Regions from separate parts of the Homo sapiens genome. Here regions 1, 2 and 4 are each linked to region 3. Evidence: promoter capture Hi-C in human tissues and cell types (Jung and others, 2019). All regions are on one chromosome and are shown on one strand. The core of a region is centred on a gene start or on the middle of the fragment in contact, and the rest is flanking DNA. Distances in the headings are between cores, read along the strand shown.

The links. Contacts are between HindIII fragments. The study calls those that stand out against the background at their distance.
Region 1: a contact is called between the fragment with the promoter of AP1M2 here and the fragment with the promoter of CDC37 in region 3, in 1 of the 25 tissues and cell types used here (lymphoblastoid cells).
Region 2: the fragment with the promoter of ICAM1 here is called in contact with the fragment with the promoter of CDC37 in region 3 in 1 of the 25 tissues and cell types used here (lymphoblastoid cells).
Region 4: a fragment that was not itself captured here is called in contact with the fragment with the promoter of CDC37 in region 3 in 5 of the 25 tissues and cell types used here (IMR-90 fibroblasts, dorsolateral prefrontal cortex, hippocampus and 2 more).

The regions. Positions count from the first base shown.
Region 1 is chr19:10,586,059-10,588,758 of GRCh38, reverse strand. AP1M2 (adaptor related protein complex 1 subunit mu 2) reads left to right here and starts at 1,447. Exons shown (of 12, transcript NM_005498.5): 1 at 1,447-1,569. The coding sequence starts at 1,528. The HindIII fragment of the contact is 10,873 bases long and covers 1-2,700 here.
Region 2 is chr19:10,269,864-10,272,563 of GRCh38, reverse strand. It overlaps ICAM1 (intercellular adhesion molecule 1), which reads right to left and starts at 1,444. Exons shown (of 7, transcript NM_000201.3): 1 at 1,338-1,444. The coding sequence starts at 1,404. All of the region lies in intron 1 of LIMASI (lncRNA inflammatory and mucous response associated, antisense to ICAM1), which reads left to right. RefSeq lists enhancers at 643-882, 1,793-1,882. The HindIII fragment of the contact is 18,240 bases long and covers 1-2,700 here.
Region 3 is chr19:10,402,108-10,404,807 of GRCh38, reverse strand. CDC37 (cell division cycle 37, HSP90 cochaperone) reads left to right here and starts at 1,266. Exons shown (of 8, transcript NM_007065.4): 1 at 1,266-1,430. The coding sequence starts at 1,329. It overlaps MIR1181 (microRNA 1181), which reads left to right and starts at 1,270; the gene lies at 1,270-1,350. RefSeq lists an enhancer at 741-1,090 and a silencer at 1,491-1,550. The HindIII fragment of the contact is 39,094 bases long and covers 1-1,631 here.
Region 4 is chr19:10,647,249-10,650,028 of GRCh38, reverse strand. No RefSeq gene overlaps it. Among named protein-coding and RNA genes, the nearest start is that of ILF3-DT, 5.2 kb to the left of the region's middle. The HindIII fragment of the contact is 3,105 bases long and covers 1-2,780 here.

The DNA.
Region 1 (2,700 bases), core at 198-2,697, 180 kb before region 3:
TACAAAAAAAGTTTTTTGGCTGGGTGCGGTGGCTCACGCCTGTAATCTCAGCCCTTTGGGACGCTGAGGCGGGTGGATCACCTGAGGTCGGGAGTTCGAGACCAGCCTGGCCAACATGGTGAAACCCCATCTCTATTAAAAATACAAAATTAGCCAGGCGTGATGGCGCATACCTGTAATCCCAGCTACTTGGGAGGCTGAGGCAGCAGAATCCCTTGAACCCGGGAAGCGGAGGTTGTAGTGAGTAGAGATCATGCCACTGCACTCCAGCCTGGAGTCTAAAAAAAAAAAAAAATTAGCTGGGCATGGTGGCGCTTGCCTGTAATCCCAGCTACTAGGGGTGCTGAGGCAGGAGGATTGCTTGAACCTGGGAGGTGGAGGTTGCAGTGAGCCAAAATCATTCCACTGCACTCCAGCATGGGCAACAGAGTGAGACTCCATTTCAAAAAACAAAAAAAAATAAATTTTTTATTTGAAATGAATAAGAGTAAATTTGTAAGAATAATAAAAGCAAGTACATTTGTCCTGCTCGGAATTATATCCACAGTTCCTGTTACTGAGTGAATGAATATTTCAAATTCAGTCAGTAAAATTCACCAGTGAAAATTATTATATGAATGAGTGAATGAATGAATTGGGCAAATTTTGAGCACCCAGTGCTGAGCACTAGGGACATAAACATGAACAAGACAAAGTCCCTGCTGTATGGGGGCTGACGTGTGTGGGTGAGACAGAGGAGAAAGAAGGTGAATGGATGGATGAATCAATGAGAGGATGAATGAATGGATAGATGGGTGGATGAATGGATAGATGAATAAATTAATGAATGCAAGAATGGATGGATGGATGGATTGATGAATGGATAGATGAATAAATTAATGATGCAAGAATGGATGAACGGATGGATGGATGGATGGATAGATGAATAAATTGATGAATGTTAGAATGGATGAATGGATGGATGAATGGAAAGATGAATAAATGAATGAATGCAAGAAGGGATGAATGAATGGATGAATAAATGGATGGATGAATGGATAATGGATAGACGAACAAATAAATGAATGCAAAAATGGATGAAGAAATGGATGACGAATGGAAGGATGGATCAATGAATCGATGGAAGATGGATTAATGAATGGCTAAATGAGTGGATGCGTGGATGGATTAATGAATGCAAGAATGAATGGATGGATGGACGAATGGATGGATAGATGAATGAAAGGAAGGATGAATGAATGGATGGAAGGATGGTTGATTGGTTTGGGGTCTCCACCCGTCATTACTCCTGGGTGGCTAGGGAAAGTGAAGGGGGGCAGCAGACCCATCTGAAGTCGCAGTACCTCTCCCGGCCCCGCAGCCATCTTCAAGTTGGCCGACAGCGCTGCTCACCTGGCCGCCTCCCCTTTAAGACGCACACACCTGGGCTCTCACCTGGGCGCAGGCGCTTCCGCAGGAAGAAGGAAGCGGCGCCGCCATCGCCTCCCGGCGCTCCCTCCCCGACTCCTAAGTCCTTCGGCCGCCACCATGTCCGCCTCGGCTGTCTTCATTCTGGACGTTAAGGGCAAGGTGAGGCTGGGCATGAGGAGTTGGGAGACGGACAGGTGAGGTCTCGCTCCCAGGGATTCAGGGGCGACCCCTCCGCGCGGGCCAGGAAGAGGTCTGGGAACACCCCCTCCCCCTGCAATCCCTGGGAATCCCACCTCCAGCATCCACTCGCCTTGTGCCTGAGGCCAAGGGGTTCGCCTCCTAGGGCCTCAGTTTCTCTGTATGTAAAAATGGGAGCAACAGAGGTCCCCACCCAATGAGAATTAATACAACTCGCTGCGTGTAAACTACTTAGCATAGTGGCCTTTCTGGAAATATTAGGGACTCAGCAAATTGAAATTATCTCCATCACTGTCGGCATCCACAGTGTTAATACCTGGGGAAGGCAACTGGAACAGGGGCCTCTAACTCCCCCCATCTGTGGCTGCCTTGCCTCTTCCTGAAGTCCTTTTATTCCTCTTGTCTTTTTTTATTTTGGAGACAGGGTCTCTTGCTGTCTCCCAGGCTTGAGTGCAGTGGTGCGATCATAGCTCACTGCAGCCTGGAATTCCTGGGCTCAAGCGATCCTCCTGCCTCAGTCTCCGGAGTAGCTGTGACTACACAGGTGCAGGCCACCATGCCTGGCTAATTCTTGACATTTTTTTGTAGAGGGATCCCGCTATGTTGCCAAAGCTGCTCTCAAACTCCTGAATATCTGGGGCTGCGGGCTGACCCCTCCATGCCCGGCTATTTTTAATTTTTTTTTTTTTTTTTTTTTAAATAGAGTCTTGCTCTGTCACCCAGGCTGGAGTGCAGTGGCTCCATCTTGGCTCACTGCAACCTCCACCTCCCGGGTTGAAGCAATTCTCCTGCCTCAGCCTCCCGAGTAGCTGGGACTACAGGTGCATGCCACCATGCCTGGCTAATTTTTGTATTTTTTTTTTTTTTCAAGACAGAGTCTCGCCTTGTCACCCAGGCTGGAGTGCAATGGCATGATCTTGGCTCACTGCAACCTCCACCTCCCAGGTTCAAGTGATTCTCCTTCCTCAGCCTCCTGAGTAGCTGGGATTACAGGCGCGCACCATCACGCCCGGCTAATTTTTTGTATCTTTAGTAGAGATGGGGTTTCACCATGTTGGGCAGGATGGTCTCAATCTCTTGACCTCGTGATCC
Region 2 (2,700 bases), core at 195-2,694, 130 kb after region 3:
AAAGAAAAGAAAAGAAAGAAAGAAGGGGCTTATTTGGATCAGGTCCCTCAGATTCTGCTGCCTCCGAAGGTGGGAAAAAATGTCTGAGCCCAGCACTGCCTCACTCAAAGATTCCTGTCTCAGATTTGTTCTATCTTGGATGGGGGTGTGAGGACACTGGCTCCATACATTCTCCAAGGGAGATTCTGGGACCATTCCCATTTCATAGAGAGAAATGGTTACTCAGCTAGAAAGCAGTGCGATCTGGGTCTGAGTCCGGATCAGAACGCTTTGTTTTTTGAGACAGAATCTCGCTATGTCTCCCAGGCTGGAGTGCAGTGGCACAATCTTGGTTCACTGCAACCTCAGCCTCGTGGGCTTAAGGGATTTTCCTCCCTCAGCCTCCCGAGCAGCTGGGATCACAGGCGCCCACCACCATGCCAGCTAATTTTTGTATTTTTAGTAGAGACGGGATGTTGCCATGTTGGCCAGGCTGGTCTCAAACTCCTGACCTTAAGTGATTCGCCCGCCTGGGGCTCCTAAAGTGTTGGGATTACTGGCATGAACTACCGTGCTGGCCTGGATCTCAGGCTTTGTTGAGCTGTTAACCAAGCTGTCAATCTCCCACCCTCCTGGTTCCCCAAACTTACACCACCATGAAAGACCCTCTGACCCCTTCCCTCTTCCCTAGCTGGGCTGGAGCTGGGGGAGGGTGTGCTGGGGCGTCCCACTTCTCAGCTTTGGGCCACGGATAAGTCAGCTCTGGAATTCCCCCAAGTAGAAGCAGCCCTGGACTTCCCCAGGGGCAGAGAGGATGAGGAACAGAATATACATCTTGAGGGGGGTGGGGGTCCCTTAAGCCTTGTTGGGTTGGCACAGAGCCAAGTTCCCAAACCATCATGATCGAGTCCTGGGGCCAGGTGCTGCGCTGGGCCAAGATACCCTGCCAGGTGGCCGCTATAACGTTTCCCGTTTTACAGCTGAGAAACTGTAAGAGACGCAATCTAGCCAAGCAAGGCGGTGGTTCACACCTCTCATCCCAGCTACTCGGGAGGCTGAGGCAGGAGGTAAGGCTAGACCCCCGGAGTTCAAGACCGGCCTGGGCAACAAAACGAGGCCCGCCCCTCCCCTCCATCTCCAACCCCCTACCCTTTTTTAAAGCTGCAATCTATAGCCCAAGGCCACACGTGGAGGTATGCAGGGTCTGGATTCGAACCTACTGGCTGTTGCCTTTCAATCGCTGTCTCTAGCCCCTCCTTCCCATAAACAGCTACCTAAGCATGCATGACCTGACCCGGGAGCCGGTCCTCCCGGGGCTTCGGAGAACTGGCCCGACGGCAATCCCCACCCCGACTCACCTGGGAACAGAGCCCCGAGCAGGACCAGGAGTGCGGGCAGCGCGGGCCGGGGGCTGCTGGGAGCCATAGCGAGGCTGAGGTTGCAACTCTGAGTAGCAGAGGAGCTCAGCGTCGACTGGGGCGCGTGATCCTTTATAGCGCTAGCCACCTGGGGGCCAAGGGGCGGTGCTGCTTTCCCGGAAACCTCGCGCCTTCCCCTCCGGAACAAATGCTGCAGTTATTTCCGGACTGACAGGGTGCCCGGGCCGAGAGGGTCATCCTCCCTCGCTGGCCGCTTCAGCTCCGGAATTTCCAAGCTAAAGCAATCGGGCGGCGGTGGCAGGGCGATGACCCCGGGGGCTGCTCCCGGCCTCCACGCCTCCCGTTTCCCGGCCAGGCTAAGCTTGAATCACGGTCTACACCGCGCTAAGCGGTTTATTAAGTACTTTTAAATACTGCCAACTTCCCCGGAGAGTGGAGACTGTTATTGTGTCCATTTCACAAAGCGGTAAACTGAGACTCCAGGCTGCGAGGGGGTCCGAACTCAAGTCCTCCCTCTCCAGCTTACGCAGGCCTCTTTAATCGAGTGGATGAGCCCCCTGCCTGGGTGGGGGCCCAGGAATCCTCCCCGGGCTCCCTCCACTGAGGGATGCCCCTCCCCCTAGGTCACGTCCACACCTAGCTGACACGGGCATTTCTCGAGAAGCGGCCAGAGCAGAGCCAGGCACCTCCCGGCGACCGCTAACCGTGGGAGTGACGAAGCGCGGTCTCACCACGTCCGGGGAAATCGGCGTCCTCTCTCTACACCCGAGGGCACTCACCCCGGCGGCCTCCTCGCTTCCCCTTTCGGCCTTGGCCGCGGAGGCGTCTTTACAGCTCCCAGAAAAAGGAAGGAAGCTGCGTGATCCCTACGCGCCGAGCCCCTCCGCTGGCGTCCCAGGCTCCGCGGGGAAACTGAGGCAGCTAGCTTGGATCTTGACGAGGGAGGGGAGGGGGACGCTCGAAATCCCTGCCTGTCGCTGGGAAACTGAGGCAGCAGCCCCCAGGCGCAGAGGCGAGGCAGGGAGAAGGGGCGCTCGAACCCCTGCCCTACGCGCGAGGCTCCGGCAACTCGAACCCAGGCTCATGCACTAAATATGAGCGGGTGTTTGCTTGGCCACCGCCTGTGCGTGTGACCCCAAGACTCGACATCCACCACGTCGAGGCTGGGTACTCTTAAGTCTCCGAGCACCAAGCCGCGCCGCCTAAGGCTTTCCTGTTGTGGGGCGCGCGCGGCGTCGCCATGGAGATCTCCGAGGGGCCAGGGAGGTCGCGCAGCAGAAGGGGAAGCGAAGGGTCCCCGGACGCGCAGGCCCTTCCTATCGGGGAAGGGGGCTGCGAGTCA
Region 3 (2,700 bases), core at 17-2,516:
GCCCACTCGCGGGTTTGAATGAAGCGCGAGGGGGAAGGGCGGCAGCGGGAGGACGTTTTTGTCCGATGGCCCTTCCCGCTCCATGCACCGGGGAATCCTCCCCCTTCTGGAGAACTTCGCTCGCTCTCTCCAGGCACTGCCTCCAACGTCGGCTCCAGGGGAGACTAGGAAGAGGCGCCCCTCACCGGAGTGGCTGGAGCTCCTCCTATCCAGCCTGACCCCCGAGGGAGCACCCTTTAATCTGAGATAATCCTGGCCCAAGGCTGCAACACGGCCTATTATCCTGGTATCAAAGCGTGGATTGGGATGCATGGAAGTGTGAGGTGGTCGAGGCCCTGCATGCTTAGAGTAATGGAGTCCTTAGAGCCCCGGCGGAGGAAGCGTACCCCAAGACGAACGGGGAGGGGCTATGCGTGGCCCCAGACTGTGACGACAAGGAAAGCCCCCTTCCACCCCTCCACGATTCCCCCCACCAAGCGCGGGGCCAGGAATACGCGCCGTGGGCTAGACTCTAGCGACACCCAGCGGCCAGCGGGGTGGGGAGCCGAGACCCGTTTTGAGGGGGTCCGGGTGATTCCAAAGTGTGTGTGTGTGTGTGTGTGCGTGTGTGTGTGTGTGTGTGTGTGTGTGCGCGCGCGCGCTCGCGCGAGTCCTCGCTGCGAATGGCAGGAGGTGGAAGACAAGGAGAAGGCTGTTGCCGAGGCGGGGAAACCCCAGCTCCCAAGGCAGGGCCACAGTCTCCCCTCCACGTTTAACCCTGCAAGGGGAGGGCCATACCACCCCCGATTTAGACACCCCCAGGGCAGGTCCAGTCCTCCTCGGGCTGAGAAAGTCCGAGGAGTCATCAGGCGCCCCTCTCCAGCGCAGGCTTAGGTCCCCGTTTACGAAGGGCAGGGGGAGGGCCTTCCCGCCGTGTCCCTACCCCTTGCAGACGTCACTGCGGCGTGGCTGAGGGGACAGTCCTCTCAGTCTCATCAACCGTCCCCTCCCTGCCACCCCAAACGCCCACCGTGGAGCGGCGGGAGATGAGGGGGGCTCGGAGTTGAAGCGCGCACTCATATGCCCCCAGGAGACCTAGCGGAGCCCCAGCGCCCGATGACGCGGAGTCTCTGCGGGAACTCCAGGGGGCCGGAACACTTACGCAGGGCCCTTTAAGGCTGGCTGGGTAGCTAGTGCCGCTGCCGCGGTTACTAGGGATGTGACGTCACACAGGGCGGGGTTTCCCGCGCTCGGCGGAAGCGGAAGGGGCGGGGCTCCGCGCTCCTAGTCTCCACTGCTGCCGCCGTCGCCGCCACCCGAGCCGGAGCGGGCTGGGCCGCCAAGGCAAGATGGTGGACTACAGCGTGTGGGACCACATTGAGGTGTCTGATGATGAAGACGAGACGCACCCCAACATCGACACGGCCAGTCTCTTCCGCTGGCGGCATCAGGTAAGGCGCGCGCGCCCATCCCTTTCCCCACTCCCGGACCCCGCTTCGGAGTTGTGATCCCCGATACTGCCCAGGGACCCCGCTGTTCACACCTAGGATTCTCACCCCCCCAGTCTGGATTTTCAGGAGCTTCGATTCAACTCCGGGACCCCAGTACCATTGGGACCCTGAGTCCCTGCCCTGGATCTCCGCTCCCCCACTCCCTGCTCCGATTTTTGCGTGGGATTCCCTATTCACCCCCTAGAACTTCTTCATAGTCTGGAGTCCCCTAGACGAGTCTTGGGGGTTCTCCCTAATTCTGTTCGGCAGTTAACATTTATACCCAGAACTCTGCCTCAAAGTTTGGACCCCAAATTCTTCTAGATGATCCCTCATCCTATTCGGGTATTCACTTCCTATCTGGGATCTCCCATCGCCCCCCCACCTCCGTAGTCTGGACCCCCAATACTTTGGTCTGTCCCGGGATCTACTTTCCGGGATCTTGATCCGGGGTTCCCATTCAGATCCGGAGTCGCCACTCCTTTTCTAAACGGAACAAGGAACTCTGTGCTACTCTGATATTCCTGTCCCTGCCCACACCCAGGACCCCCTTCCTAGAGTGTAGAACCGTCCCCCTTCAGGATCCTTAGTCTCACCGAGTACTTGGGTTTTGGAATCTGGTTCCCCTCTGGATCTAACTACCAGCTCCAACCCGATAGAGCCTCACATTCCAGCCTCTCCTTTGGCCTCCGGTAGACCCATTTCCCATTATACCAGGAAATCCTGCCCACGTGGCTTCCGGCCTAGCCAGAGCCCCTGCTCCTACTTGGTATTGCAGACCCTGTCACCACCCACTTCCCAGACTGGCTTCCTGTATGAGCCTCAGCCAGCATTGGAAACTCTCCCCTAACTCAAGCCCAGAACCCCAAACCCACCCCACCTTTTGTCCCCAGCCTGTTAGCTACTCTGTGACCCAAATTGTCCCTGCTCTTATCCAGGGACTCTCCTGGTCTGATTCTAAATTCACCACCCCTTCTTCTATCTGACCACAACAGAGGTCCCGAATCCAGACCCCAGAATCCCAAGCCTGGGTGATCCATGTCCCACCACCCTCTCAGTGCTCACGAGCCAATGGGATGACTAAGACTTAAAGGTTTAACCTCCTGCTACCCCAAATGAGTGTGCCTGCATTACATACCAGTGTCTGTTGTATTCCTTTTTTTTTTTTTTTTTTTTTTTTTGAGACGAAGTTTCCTTCTTGTCGCCCAGGCTGGAGTGCAGTGGCACAATC
Region 4 (2,780 bases), core at 159-2,658, 250 kb before region 3:
ATTCAACATCAAGGGGTTGCTTCAGTACCTGGCATGGAGTTAAAGCTTCAAAAACAGTAATGGTTATGATTGTTACCTCTTGAACGGGTGCCCCATCCAACCAGAACTTCCTGAAAAATGTTGTCTTGGCCAGGCATGCTGGCTCATGCCTGTAATCCTACACTTTGGGAGGCTGAGGCAGGGGGATTGCTTGAGCCCAGAAGTTCAAGACCAGTCTGGGCAACATAGTGAGACCCCATCTCTATGTTTTTTATCTATCTATCTATTTATTTATTTTTGAGATGGAGTCTCGTTCTGTAGTCCCAGCTAGGGTGCAGTGATAACAATCTCAGCTTACTGCAACCTCCAATTCCCGAGTTTAAGCAATTCTGCCTTAGCCTCCCAAGTCACTGGGATTGCAGGCGTACACCACCATGGTCAGCTAATTGTTGTATTTTTAGTAGAGACTGGGTTTTGCCATGTTGGCCAGGCTGGTCTCAAACTCCTGACCTCAAGTTATCCACCCACCTTGGCTTCCCAAAGTGCTGGGATTACAGGCATGAGCTACTGCACCCAGCCCCATCTCTACATTAAAAAAAAAAAAAGTTTTCAAGAATAAAAACAAAAAGAAGGCTGGGGGCAGTGGCTCATACTTGTAATCCTAGCACATTGGGAGGCCGAGATTGGTGGATCACTTGAGGTCAGGAGTTCAAGACCACCCTGGCCAACATGGTGAAACTCTGTCTTTACTAAAAGTACAAAAAGTAGCTGGGCATGATGGCTGGCATCTGTAATTCCAGCTACTCGGGAGGCTGAGGCACGAGAATCGCTTGAACCTGGGAGGTGGAGGTTGCAGTGAGCCGAGATCAAGCCACTACAGTCCAGCCTGGGTGACAGGGAGACTGTGTCTAAAAAAAAAAAGAAAGGGCCAGGTGTGGTGGTTCACCCTCTAATCCTAGCACTTTGGGAGGCCGAGGCGGGTGGATCACTTGAGGTCAGGAGTTCGAGACCAGCCTGGCCAACATGGTGAAACCCCATCTCTCCTTAAAATATAAAAAATTAGCTGGGCGTGGTGGTACGCACCTGTAATCCCAGCTACTCGGGAGGCTGAGGCAGGAGAATCACTTGAACCCAGGAAGCGGAGGTTGCAGTGAGCTGAGATTGCACCATTGCACTCCAGACTGGGGGACAAGAGTGAGACTTCGTCTCAAAAAAAAAAAAAAAGGAAAAAGAAAAAAATTTTTTGAAGTAAAAAGTTTTCAGCCCAACTTTCCAATAAACCCCATCCATCAGGTTCCTAGTCCCTGGTCACCGTAAAGGATGGAAGACACAAGATGCCATCTGCCCTGTCTTGCTGAACTGCTACCCTGACCCGACCTCGCACCTCTGCCCTTGTCCTTCCACCACTCAGTGGTCACAAACCCTGTATACAACACCATTCTCTCCTCCTTGCCTTAGTGACATCATCTGTCATCTGGCTATTCCTTCTCTCTTCCCTCCCTCCCACTCATTGGTTGAAGATTGAGGTCATCCCCCTCTTGTAATCTGTCAGTCTAGACAGGTCCTGTCACTCTCAGTGACTCTGCTGTCCTTACAGCCTCTCTATTCATTGTCTTCCTCATCTTGAAAGATTCCACCCACTCTCCCAATCACACCCAGTTAACTTCCCTCTCGAAAGCTTTTTGTCCTATGCCTGTTCCCTTCTTGCCCCCCCCCAGGGTGGACATGGGTGACCACTCTGGGATGGACACTGTGGGATGACCACAGTTGTTGGGGAACCATTCCTCTCCCTTGATCAAACTGTAGTCTAGATGGCAGGTCCCTGCTGCCTGACTCCCAAACTAGGCCCACACCTTGACTACAATGATTGACTCAATGATTTACAATGAGTAAATGATCATAATCAGGCTGGTCAGAGTCAGTGAGCTCCAGGCCTGAGACTTAGGAGCAAGAAAAGACTTTTCTGGCCCTCTAATCCCAACACTTTGGGAGGCCGAGGTGGGTGGATCAAGAGTTCAAGAGTTCAAGAGCAGCCTGGCCAAGATGGTGAAACTCCATCTCTACTAAAAATACAAAAATTAGCCGGGCATGGTGGCGGGCTCCTGTAATCCCAGCTACTCGGGAGGCTGAGGCAGAGAATTGCTTGAACCCAGGAAGCGGAGGTTGCAGTGAGCCAAGATCATGCCACTGCACTCCAGGCTGGGCGACAGAGCGAGACTCCGTCTCAAAAAAAGAGAAGACTTCTCATCTTAAAGCCAGGAAAATGTAGCTGCGTGCGGTGGCTCATGCCTGTAATCCCAGCACGTTGGGAGGCCAAGGCAGGCGGATCATGAGGTCAGGAGATCGAGACCATCCTGGCTAACATGGTAAAACCCTGTCTCTACGAAAAATACAAAAAAATTAGCCGGGGGTGGTGGCGGGCAGCTGTAGTCCCAGCTACTCAGGAGCTGAGGCAGGAGAATGGCGTGAACCCGGGAGGCGGAGCTTGCAGTGAGCCTAGATCGTGCCACTGCACTCCAGCCTGAGTGACAGAGCAAGACTCCATCTCAAAAAAAAAAAAAAAAAAAAAAAAAGGCCAGGAAAATGTATGATGTGTGTATTACTAGGTTTCTCCGAGAAAGCTAATAGGAGGTAGGTAGATGAGAGGGGATTTAGCAGAATAATTGGCTCATGTGATCATGGAGGCTGAGATGTCCTACCACATGCATTGACTGCAGACCCTGAAAAGCCAGCAGCTCCAGTAGCTGAAGACCCTGCAAAGCCAGTAGCGAGGCTCAGTCTGAATCCTAAAGCTTCAGAGC